Linked DNA regions of Homo sapiens: region 2 is linked to region 1. Evidence: promoter capture Hi-C in 16 types of primary human blood cells and fetal thymus (Javierre and others, 2016). All regions are on one chromosome and are shown on one strand. Each heading gives the region's core, a stretch centred on a gene start or on the middle of the fragment in contact. The rest is flanking DNA. Distances are from core to core; before and after follow the strand shown.

What was found. The method cuts DNA at HindIII sites, captures the fragments that hold promoters and counts their contacts. A CHiCAGO score of 5 or more calls a contact.
Region 2: a contact is called between the fragment with the promoter of NFXL1 here and the fragment with the promoter of FRYL in region 1, in 4 of 17 cell types (monocytes, fetal thymus, naive CD4 T cells and 1 more). The highest score is 11.0, in monocytes.

The regions. Positions count from the first base shown.
Region 1 is chr4:48,778,906-48,783,576 of GRCh38, reverse strand. It overlaps FRYL (FRY like transcription coactivator), which reads left to right and starts at 3,298. Exons shown (of 64, transcript NM_015030.2): 1 at 3,298-3,499. RefSeq lists silencers at 3,253-3,362, 3,453-4,332. The HindIII fragment of the contact is 8,638 bases long and covers 2,288-4,671 here.
Region 2 is chr4:47,910,950-47,915,992 of GRCh38, reverse strand. NFXL1 (nuclear transcription factor, X-box binding like 1) reads left to right here and starts at 1,410. Exons shown (of 23, transcript NM_001278624.2): 1 at 1,410-1,628; 2 at 1,788-2,024; 3 at 4,999-5,043. The coding sequence starts at 1,790. LOC101927157 (a long non-coding RNA gene) reads right to left here and starts at 1,766. Exons shown (of 3, transcript NR_125879.1): 1 at 1,289-1,766. RefSeq lists enhancers at 1,430-1,659, 1,170-1,855, 1,856-2,542. The HindIII fragment of the contact is 5,032 bases long and covers 1-1,798 here.

The DNA of each region.
Region 1 (4,671 bases), core at 2,049-4,548:
CCTGAGCTCAAGTGATTTACCTGCCTCGGCCTCCCAGTGCTGGGAATACAGGTGTGAGCCACTGCACTTGGCCCCCATTTTCTCACTATTCTTAACACATAATAGTCGCTATATAAGTGTGTGGTGAACTGGAAAGAATTTCCAATAGGAATGGTAACATAATTTTTCAGAGGAAAAATAATTACTGGTTAAACTATGGAACCTCTTTGAGGGGTACATTTGCATATAAACAGGGAGAATAGTGATCATAACATATTTCACTTTTTTTGTATTTTTTATTTTTGACACGGAGTCTTGCTATGTCATCCAGGCTGGAGTGCAGTGGTGCGATCTCAGCTCACTGCAACCTCCGCCTCCCGAGTTCAAGCCATTCTCCTGCCTCAGCCTCCCGAGTAGCTGGAATTACAGGCATGCGCCACCACGCCCGGCTAATTTTTGTATTTTTAGTAAAGACGAGGTTTCACCATGTTGGCCAGGCTGGTCTTGAACTCCTGACCTGAGGTGATCTGCCTGCCTCGGCCTCACAAAGTGCTGAGATTACTGGCACGGTGTGAGCCATGGTGCCTGGAGGTATTTCACCATTTAAAAGACTTTAACAAACATCTATATACAATAATTTAAAAAGCTTTATTTACATTAGCACATTGGAGAAGGGTGTGTGTGTGTGTGTGTGTGTGTGTGTGTGTGTGTGTGACAGAGTGAGACTCTGTCGCCCAGGCTGGAGTACAGTGGTGCAATCTTGGCTCACTGCAACCTTCGCCTTTCGGGTTCAAGTGATTCTCCTGCCTCAGCCTCCCCAGTAGCTGGGATCACAGGCCTGTGACCATTCCCACCAGCTAATTTTTGTATTTTTTGCAGAGATGGGGTTTCGCCATGTTGCCCAGGCTGGTCTTGAACTCCTGGCCTCAAGTCATCCACCTGCCTTGGCCTCCCAAAGTGCTGGGATTACAGGCGTGAGCCACTGCACCCAGCCGAGAAATATTCTTTTTTTAAAGAGTGGGGATTGGGCTTAGAATGAGAAACTAAGGTAGAGAGATAAAGTCTCTCTGAATGAGAAAGTACAACTTGTAAAATTCTCCAGGGTTAGAACTGGGGCTGTGTTCATCAACACTGAACATTCTTAAGAATAACCTCTACGTTGTAAGCTCCAGGTTTGTAGATTTTTAAAATTCTTCTTTGCTGTGAAATGCCAGTAGGAGTATTAGTACCAGGAAGTTGCATGTGTGGGCTAAAAAGTGATAAATGATCCTATTGTGGGCAAATATGAAATATTTAGAGAAAAGAATAACACAAATTATACTTGAAAGGTGATAATCTCAGCATAGTTGGTTCAATGCAAGTAAGAGAATCTAGAGGTTACTGTAGACTGCCTTCTCTAGTTTATATGCCCAGTCTGCTAGTGCAGCAAAAGAGGGCAGTAACAAGCTGGATATCATAGGGCAGGTGTTTTAGAAAGAACCTGAAAACATCACTTAGACCTTGAACAAAAGCTGCAGGTGTGTACATGCCTGAAACACTGGATATCTTTATCTCCAGAAGATCATACTAGATATCAGTACATAGTATCTTCTTCTTCTTATATTCTAATGTAGAATATTAGAACCCAGAAGCAGTCTCAGAGTTTGAGAGTGGTAAGTGAGTAAACCAGAAGTATTAGTTTAGCTTGGCTGCAGTTTTATTATACAGTAAAATCAGAATAGGCTAAGCATAGGGATTTAGTTATAGGGACTTAATAGGGAGGATGTGTGTATCTGTGAAGGCCATATAAATGCAACCCAGATAGTTCATCGTCTCTTGCCCCCACTAGTGATACCTAAACCACCTTCCTGCAACGTTCCCTTTTGTTTCCTGCTCTTTCATATTTTCGGGAATCCTCATGAAATTTTTCACCTGTATTTGGGGAAAAGTCCTATGAACTACCAACTACTGATGTTTACTTACCCTTCTCTGTCATCATCAAGCCCCTTTTCTAGGGTACTGCTGAGCACTGACACTTCCTTGGCACCATTAGATTATACTGGGGTATCACTGCAAATGTACTAAAGCCCCCGGGGTACACAGTCTTCAAGGTTCATCGGCAAAGAGGGAGAGAACACATAACCATTTTCCCCTAACATTCTTAGATGGGTACCGAAGCTGTACCTGTACTCAATTTTAGTGGAAATAAACCTTTTAGTTCTTACAGCTCCAGTGGGAAACTGGGGAAACTCTAAAGCAGACCCCGCACTAGGCTTCCCCATAATTTCTTCTCTTTTCAATGCGTGAGGTTCTGCTCCATGGTCAAGCTTCTGGTATCAGATTCCCTCTTTCCCTTAGACAGACTCGTTTTCTCCTGAGAGGCATCTCAGTTGTTCAAGTGACCTGGGGTGTTTTTCCTACAGTTCTAGCAAGGGGGAACGAAGTCCTACACTTTGAGGATGGCATAAGGGTACCATCTACTTAATTTTTTCAAAAAAGTAACAGGTCTCGTGGAAACGCGGGAACGTCACAGAGGACGTGACTTAAACGGAACTTGTAATGGAAATGATTTTCTAAATGAACAATTGCGAGACAAGCAAGGAAACCTCCAGGTTTGCAGATAACTTGATTAAAGCTCTTCCGGGTGGCAAAATGCCAGTGCAATCAATGGTATGAGTAGGGCGGACAGTGGATGAAACTTGTTGAGTAAATCTCAGGAGGAATTAGCACTGGACTTTCAGGTATTCTAACTCAATTCTAACCATTCCATTCTCTGGATCATTGGATAAGGTTCCGCAGGATCCGGGCGCCAGCTCTGGATACATTACTGATCGGGAGAAAATTTTGAATTTTTCTCTTGTCCCTTTCCAGCTTTCCTCAATATAGGATATGAGTTTGTCCTCGACCCCTAACAACATTTAAAGGTAAAGTCGCTCCTAGAAGGCAAAGCGGAGAGGACTTTGCGGCTGTGTTTCTCAAGCCCGTAAAGAGAGAGTAATAATGGTAGGGAGCGTGCAGACTAGCTCTTTCCTTGCCCAATCAAGTGTACAGGAAGATGTCCTTTCACCAATAAAAATAAAGTTCGCTTTCCGGAGGCGGGAGGGTGAGCCTTGACTGCCAGGGCTCCAAAGCAACGTTAGAGGCGAGGGCAGAGAATGATTAGAGGGAAGACCAACCCGGGAAAAGGGGCGGGGAGAAGGTAGGAGCAACTTTGAGCGGCGGCTGGCCAGGCCAGTGGAGGGCGAGGACTGCTGTTCCTGTTGTAGTGTTTCTCGCCAATCAGGAAGGCCAGGGGGCGGGCGGGGTAGGGAAGGGGTGGGAAGACCTCGCAGCACAGCCGGGCGCCCGTCGGGCTCTGGGAGAGAGCGAGAGAGAAATCCGGTTAAAATCAGAGTCGGAGGGAGGTTTAACCACAGATCGGTTCCGATCGGATTATTCCTTAAAGGGGACGCGCCATTGTCAAGAGAACGGAGCCAGGGGCCCGAGGGCGGGGACCGGCGGCGCTGGAGGAGCGAGGCAGCTGTACTAGGACTGGGAACGGGTAGGTGTTGACTGGGGAAAGGCGCTTCATTTTACTTTCTCTTCCAGCCCCGGGGCAGGCGCCGGGATGCCCGCCGCCGGCAGCCCAGCCTGGGCGGGAGACGAGGTCGTCGGCCCTCGCCAGCTGTCCTTCCTGGTGGGCGCCGAGGGAAGGCGGTCCAGGATGGCTGGCAAGCGGCGCGGCGCGGCCCGGGCCGGCGCTCGTAACGGACACCAAACCGCGGCGCAACCCCAGCCTCAACCGAAAGCCCGCCCGAGCTCCGGCGGTTCCGCCGGCAGCGCCGCGCGCCCGTCTCTCCCGCACGTCCCCTTCCCCTCCAGTGCCTGGCTCTTCTCGCGCGCGCCCGGGTACCCCTCGCGCGCCGCCTTCTCGCGCGTCCTGCTCTGGTCGCGCGCCGCCTCGCCACCGACTCGCGGGAGCCGCCCCGCGGGAAGGAAGGCGGTGGCAGAGGTGGAGGAAGACCGGCGACCACGGCTCCGCCGCCTCGGCTGGGAAGGGAGGGCTGAGGAGCAAACTTAGCGCGGCGGCTGGCGGGCCCCGGCGGGCAGGGCTGGCGGGGACCGGCGGAGCGCGCCAGCCCAGCCGGGCATTGTCCGCCTTTTCCCTTGCTCTGGTCTCTCCGCCCACTGCTCGCGGTCCTGGGGAGGGGTGCGGGCGCTGTGCCCGCGCAGCCCCGGGCCGTTGGCGTACCCCGGGACCCGGAGTCTTCCGGAGCCGGAGCCAGCCCTGCGGACACCGCGGCCACCGCCCGCGAGCTGACTCGGCCTGTAGATTGCCTGCTGCTCTCAGCCTCGGCACCGGGCAGGGTGCCTGGGCGCTGAGCTCTTCTTTGCAACTTTTATTTGCCGTTTGATGGAAGTTGTTGCTTCCGGGCGGCAGGTTCTTTGGGCACAGCCTGGTTTCCTGCGTTCTGGAGAGGCTGGTTTCTAGGGCGAAATGATTTATTGCTGCCGGTCTTTCCTGCCATCCTAGTTTAGTTCCTCGCCACCTAAAATCGCATTTTTGTGGATTTGCAATGATATGGGAGCATTAATCTTTCCTAGGCCAAGATTTGAAAAGAAAAAAAAGGGGGTGGGGGTTAGGGTGTGTGCTGGTGAGGAGCAAGAGTTCTTAGTAGAGCTGAGTTTGCCCTTACCTTTGAACTGCGGAAAATATTACTTCGATTCACTGGC
Region 2 (5,043 bases), core at 161-2,660, 870 kb after region 1:
CCTGACATCTAATAAATGCTATCTAAATATTATAATAGAAATTTATGGTTAAAATAGAAGAATTAACTAAGTTGAAGGACTGTACAATAAGCCATCAATATGTTTCTCAATCCCAGACAGACCCCAGAATGAATTTTTGCAATCTACCTGTCAGTATATATGCACATGTATCTTATTGGAAAACTCAGCAAAATCATAAGATTTAGGTCCTGGCCCTCAACTATTTTCCTTAACAAAATCTACTTTAGGGAGATGCTGTGAAGGTAAAAATTAGCATGTCCCAGGGAAAGCTCATTGCACACTACAAAGGACTATGACAATAACAGGCTTTAGATTTATTTTCTACATTGGCTCTAGCATTTTAGAAGGGTACTTTTACTACTCAAGCCACTTTCCTGCAACTCTCCCCCGAATTTCCCTCCTTCACAGTGGCCAACCTCAAAGCGTTTTCAATGTAAGTGCCTTTCCTGTTAGTGAGACTTCCCTATGAAAATAAATAGTTTAAAGGTTGTTGGAGCCTAAAACTCACTAAGCCTGGAGAGAGATGTGACTGTCATCTGAGTTACACGTGGTTACAACTTCTGTTTCTCAGATTATAGATTAACTTGCTTTCTTATTTTTCTTGTTCTATACAATGGCTAGAGAGAATTAAACGAAGTTAAGGACAAAAACTTCCTGCCTTCTTAATGATCCTTATAGATTAACTTCTGCTTTGTTGCCCCGGTTTGCTTAGACCAGATGACAGAAAATCCTTTATGAAAAATGTTAAATGTACACTTCCCAAAAAGAAACACTGTCTATAATCAAATTGTTGTAACTATTCTCTAACCTTGTATGAGAAAATGCTGTAATCCTGCTAAAAAACCTCTCAGTTTCTGCCTATATAAGTGAAATCTTAAATCTCTACTTCGGAACGCTGACTCCTTCCTTGGAGTCGGTGTTTCTAGGTAGGCTATCCTCAAACTTCGCGCTTTTGATTATTTTACATTGACACCTCCTGTCATCCGCAAGCTCAAAGGCAAGGCTAATAAAAGATGGCAGAGAGCCAATTAGGGACAGAGCCATGTAATCCTCATACCCAGGTGAGTTTAGGGCAGTCTTGCAGAAGCAGAAGCAAATTGTGGGGTCACGAAACCCTCCGGACCCGCCCGCCTCCACCACCACGCGCCCCTATGACCTTCGACCCCTCCCTAGCCCCAGAGCACGCCGGGAGTTGTAGTTCCCAAAGGCCTGTTCGGGCCAGCGCAGGCGCTTGGGGTTTCCCTCCCACCCAACCCCCGCACTTTACCGGATAAGGAAGCGGCCCGTGCTGCCACGCAGTCGCCGGAACGCGGGCGGGGGCTTCTGGGAGTTGTAGTCTGTTGGGGGCGTGCGCAGTCGGTAAGGAGACGTAGCTTTCCGTGGGGTGTACCACTGCAGTTGGTTCCCGGCGGGAGACGCAGGGTCAGTCTGTGACTCTTCCCCTACCACGCTCCCGCAGAGGCTGAGGAGGCGGTTTCGACTTCTCCTCCGGCTTTCTGTCTTCGGCACTGTGTGCTTCTTGCTCCGCGGTTTATTTCTGTACCTAGTCCTCCCTCCCCTCTTCGGTCCATCTCCAAAGCCCGGGCTTGGCGGGGACTCGCCCTCCGGTAAAGGCAGGGCCGCGACCTCCTAAAACCCGGTCGCCGCCCTGCAGGAACCTTCCTCACTCGGCCCCTCACACCGGGTTTCCGCACTGACCCTCCTTCGCCTCGGTCCTCGCTGCGCTCACCTCCTTCCACTCTTTTTTTTTTTTTTCTCCTTTGCAGGGATGGAAGCTTCCTGGCGCCAGGTGGCCGGTGGCCGAGGCCGATCCCGGGGACGGGCCACTGCCGCCCCCTCAGGAAATGGAGTCCATCTCCGCGGCGCCGGAGGAGGGCGAGAGAAGGGGTCGGTGGGCGCAGTTCCTTCTGGCACCAGTCCCGGAGGAGTCGCGACCACGGCGGCTGCAGGGAGCAGGCACAGCCCCGCAGGATCCCAAGCCCTGCAGACTACCGCAGCCAGCGGTGAGAATGGCTCCCGCCCGCGTGCTCACCTGGATGCCTCCTAAGGCAGTTACTAGTCAGGACCGCCTCCGCCCTCGCCTTCTTTCTTTCACTGCTTTTCCCCTCGTTCGGGAGTTTGTTATCGGGCCCACTTCTCCAGCCTTTCGGGTGGCTGCTCTTTTCGGCACTCTAGGTAGATTTCCATCGCACCTCTTTCATCTTAATTTTAGGTGGTATTACCTTTGTTACTTCCCTCCACTCTTGCCTACTTGAATCTCCAGACCATCAGTTGTAAATTGTGGCCCGGTGTTCTGATTTGGTCTATAATGTTGTTTGGTTAACACAGAGTTTTAAATGTGGATTGATTGTCAGCGGTTGTTTGTCGTTTTTAAAAATCTGGTTAACAACCTTGTGGCTTTAGTTATCTTTGTGCATGGCAACAGTCAGCTCGGCTGAGTCACAGAAATCCCATTTAGATTGGACTTGGGCATTCCATCTCACATTCTCTCTCATTTCTGGAGCCAGGTGTCATTTGTCATCTTTACCTTTGCCTTTGTTTCTTGACTTGTCTTATTCCTTGTAAGCACTTGAGCTTTTGATACCTTCCTTGACTGTAGTTCCTATTTACAAATTCCATGTCCTTCTGTGGACATATCTGGTGTTGCCTCCGATATATCAATACTTTTCATCCAAGACCATGTTTTCGTGGAGCCAGGGAGGACTTACACACAATTGTGCATGGGGCCGAGGGAATAATCCCTGAAATCATTTTATTTTTGTGTTTGGAATGCATTTCAGGATACATTTTTTTGGGGGGTGTGGAGCAGAATTGAGTATCTTGAATGATTTTTCTCCTAGGCTAATTTGAAAGGTAGGTGGTATTCTCTTAGCATGCAGTTAATGGCCGTGATGATAAGGTATACAATATGGAGACGTGTGAACAGGTTTGGTAAACTTTTTTTTTTTTTTTTTTTTTTTGAGACAGAGTCTCGCTGGTCGCCCAGGCTGGAGTGCAGTGGCGCAATCTCGGCTCACTGCAAGCTCTGCCTCCTGGGTTCAGGCCGTTCTCCGGCCTCAGCCTCCCGAGTAGCTGGGACTACAGGCGCCTGCCACCACGCCTGGCTAATGTTTTGTTTTTTGTTCTTTGGTTTTTTTTTTTTAGTAGAGACGGGGTTTCACCGTGTTAGCCAGGATGGTCTCCATCTCGTGGGTAGAAGGAAAACAAGCATTCTGTCCGGGCGCGGTGGCTCAAGCCTGTAATCCCAGCACTTTGGGAGGCCGAGGCGGGCAGATCATGAGGTCAGGAGATGGAGACCATCCTGGCTAACAGGGTGAAACCCCGTCTCTACTAAAAATACAAAAAATTAGCCGGGCGGGGTGGCAGGCGCCTGTAGTCCCAGCTACTCGGGAGGCTGAGGAAGGAGAATGGCGTGAGCCCGGGAGGCGGAGCTTGCAGTAGCCGAGATTGCCCCACTGCACTCCAGCCTGGGCGACAGAGCAAGACTCCGTCTCAAAAAAAAAAAAAAAAGAAAGAAAAGAAAAAGAAAACAAGCATTCTCTACCTGGACAGTTGAGATTTGGCTGTAAGAAATAATACGTGAGAAGGTTGTCTTGTCAGCTTCTCTTTACTTTGAGATGATGTTAGGTGAATACATTTATCAGGTTATGAATGTTCTCATTATCTCTGTCCAGTTCAGCCTGTTTTCTTATGTATCTTTTAAGTGCTAATTTCCCGTATATTAATGACATTTATCATCTCTTTTGTGACAAGTTTTGAGTTATATATCTCATAGCCAGTTCTTTTTTCCCAGTACTCAAAGCTTGCTAGGTAAGCATGATACACATTTTCGTCGAGGTTTACTTGAAATACTCAATTTGTTTTGTTAATAACCCCTAACCAAACTGGCTGCAATAAGAAAAGGAAAATGTTTCATGAGGGAACATAATCAAGTACGAATATACCACCCAAGATAAGAGAGCTTATCTTGGTAGTGGCTTATCAGTTTTAAGTATAATGTTAATTTTAAAATAGTCAATCAGTAAATTTAAAATCCTCTCAAGATGGGAATTCATGAACTCAGATCAGTTCTGCAGGTTTGTGGCTCCTTTCTTAAACTATGTTTGCTGTCCGTAAGAGCTTATTAACACTTAGTGCTTGAAGAAAATCCCTGTGGTCCTTGCTCTCAAGAAGTTTGAAGTTTCTTTGGGAGTATGTGCAGTGAAGTAATCTGGTTTTGTTTTGCATGATTAATCAAGTAACAAAATGAGAAGTACAGGTAGTGCTGAATAGTGGAAGAACGAATCCAAAATTAACATTCTTTTTGGAATGAAGTTGGAAGAAACATGTTTTCCATGTTAATACTTTGTGTGGATTAATGTAAAATATGTTTTTTTGTGTGACCACAAGAAGTCCATAATAAAGGCAAAAAGTTCTTGACCTAAGAAGCCGATTGTAAATATAGTGGGTGCATAGTGAGTACTGTTGGTACAAACTCTTTGGTAGGGCTGGACTGGACTGGGCTGGGCCGTCGTGTCCTATCCTACCTGTTGTTCAGAAGACGGTAGTTTGAAATACCTACCTTCCCTGATTCTTTATGTGCTCACTGTGGACATGTTCCCTCACTTCTTAAAAATTACTGTGCACAATGTACTTTAAAACATCTTAATTTTTGTTAGTCCTTATTTTGAAGTTGATCACCAGTATTTTGATAGTTTTATTGTATTTTCATATTTTTTTTCTTGATTTGTTAATCACCGTTATCATAAAAATTTGCTGCATTTTAGCAGGATACTTAGAAAAGTGAAAGTTTTTGTTGTGGTATTCTCTTTAGTTGTGTGTCAAGGAATTTGAAAATACTTTTCTCGTGGATTACAGGAAGGTAGAATGCTCCAAAGGTGACTTTCAAATGTGTGTTGTAAAATGATATATTAGCACATTATGCTTTTCTTTTTGAGAGATTGTTTTGCAGAAATGAAACTTTTTTCTTTTAAACAGAGCTAATGTCTCAGAAAAAATTTGAAGAAATCAAGAAAGCTAACC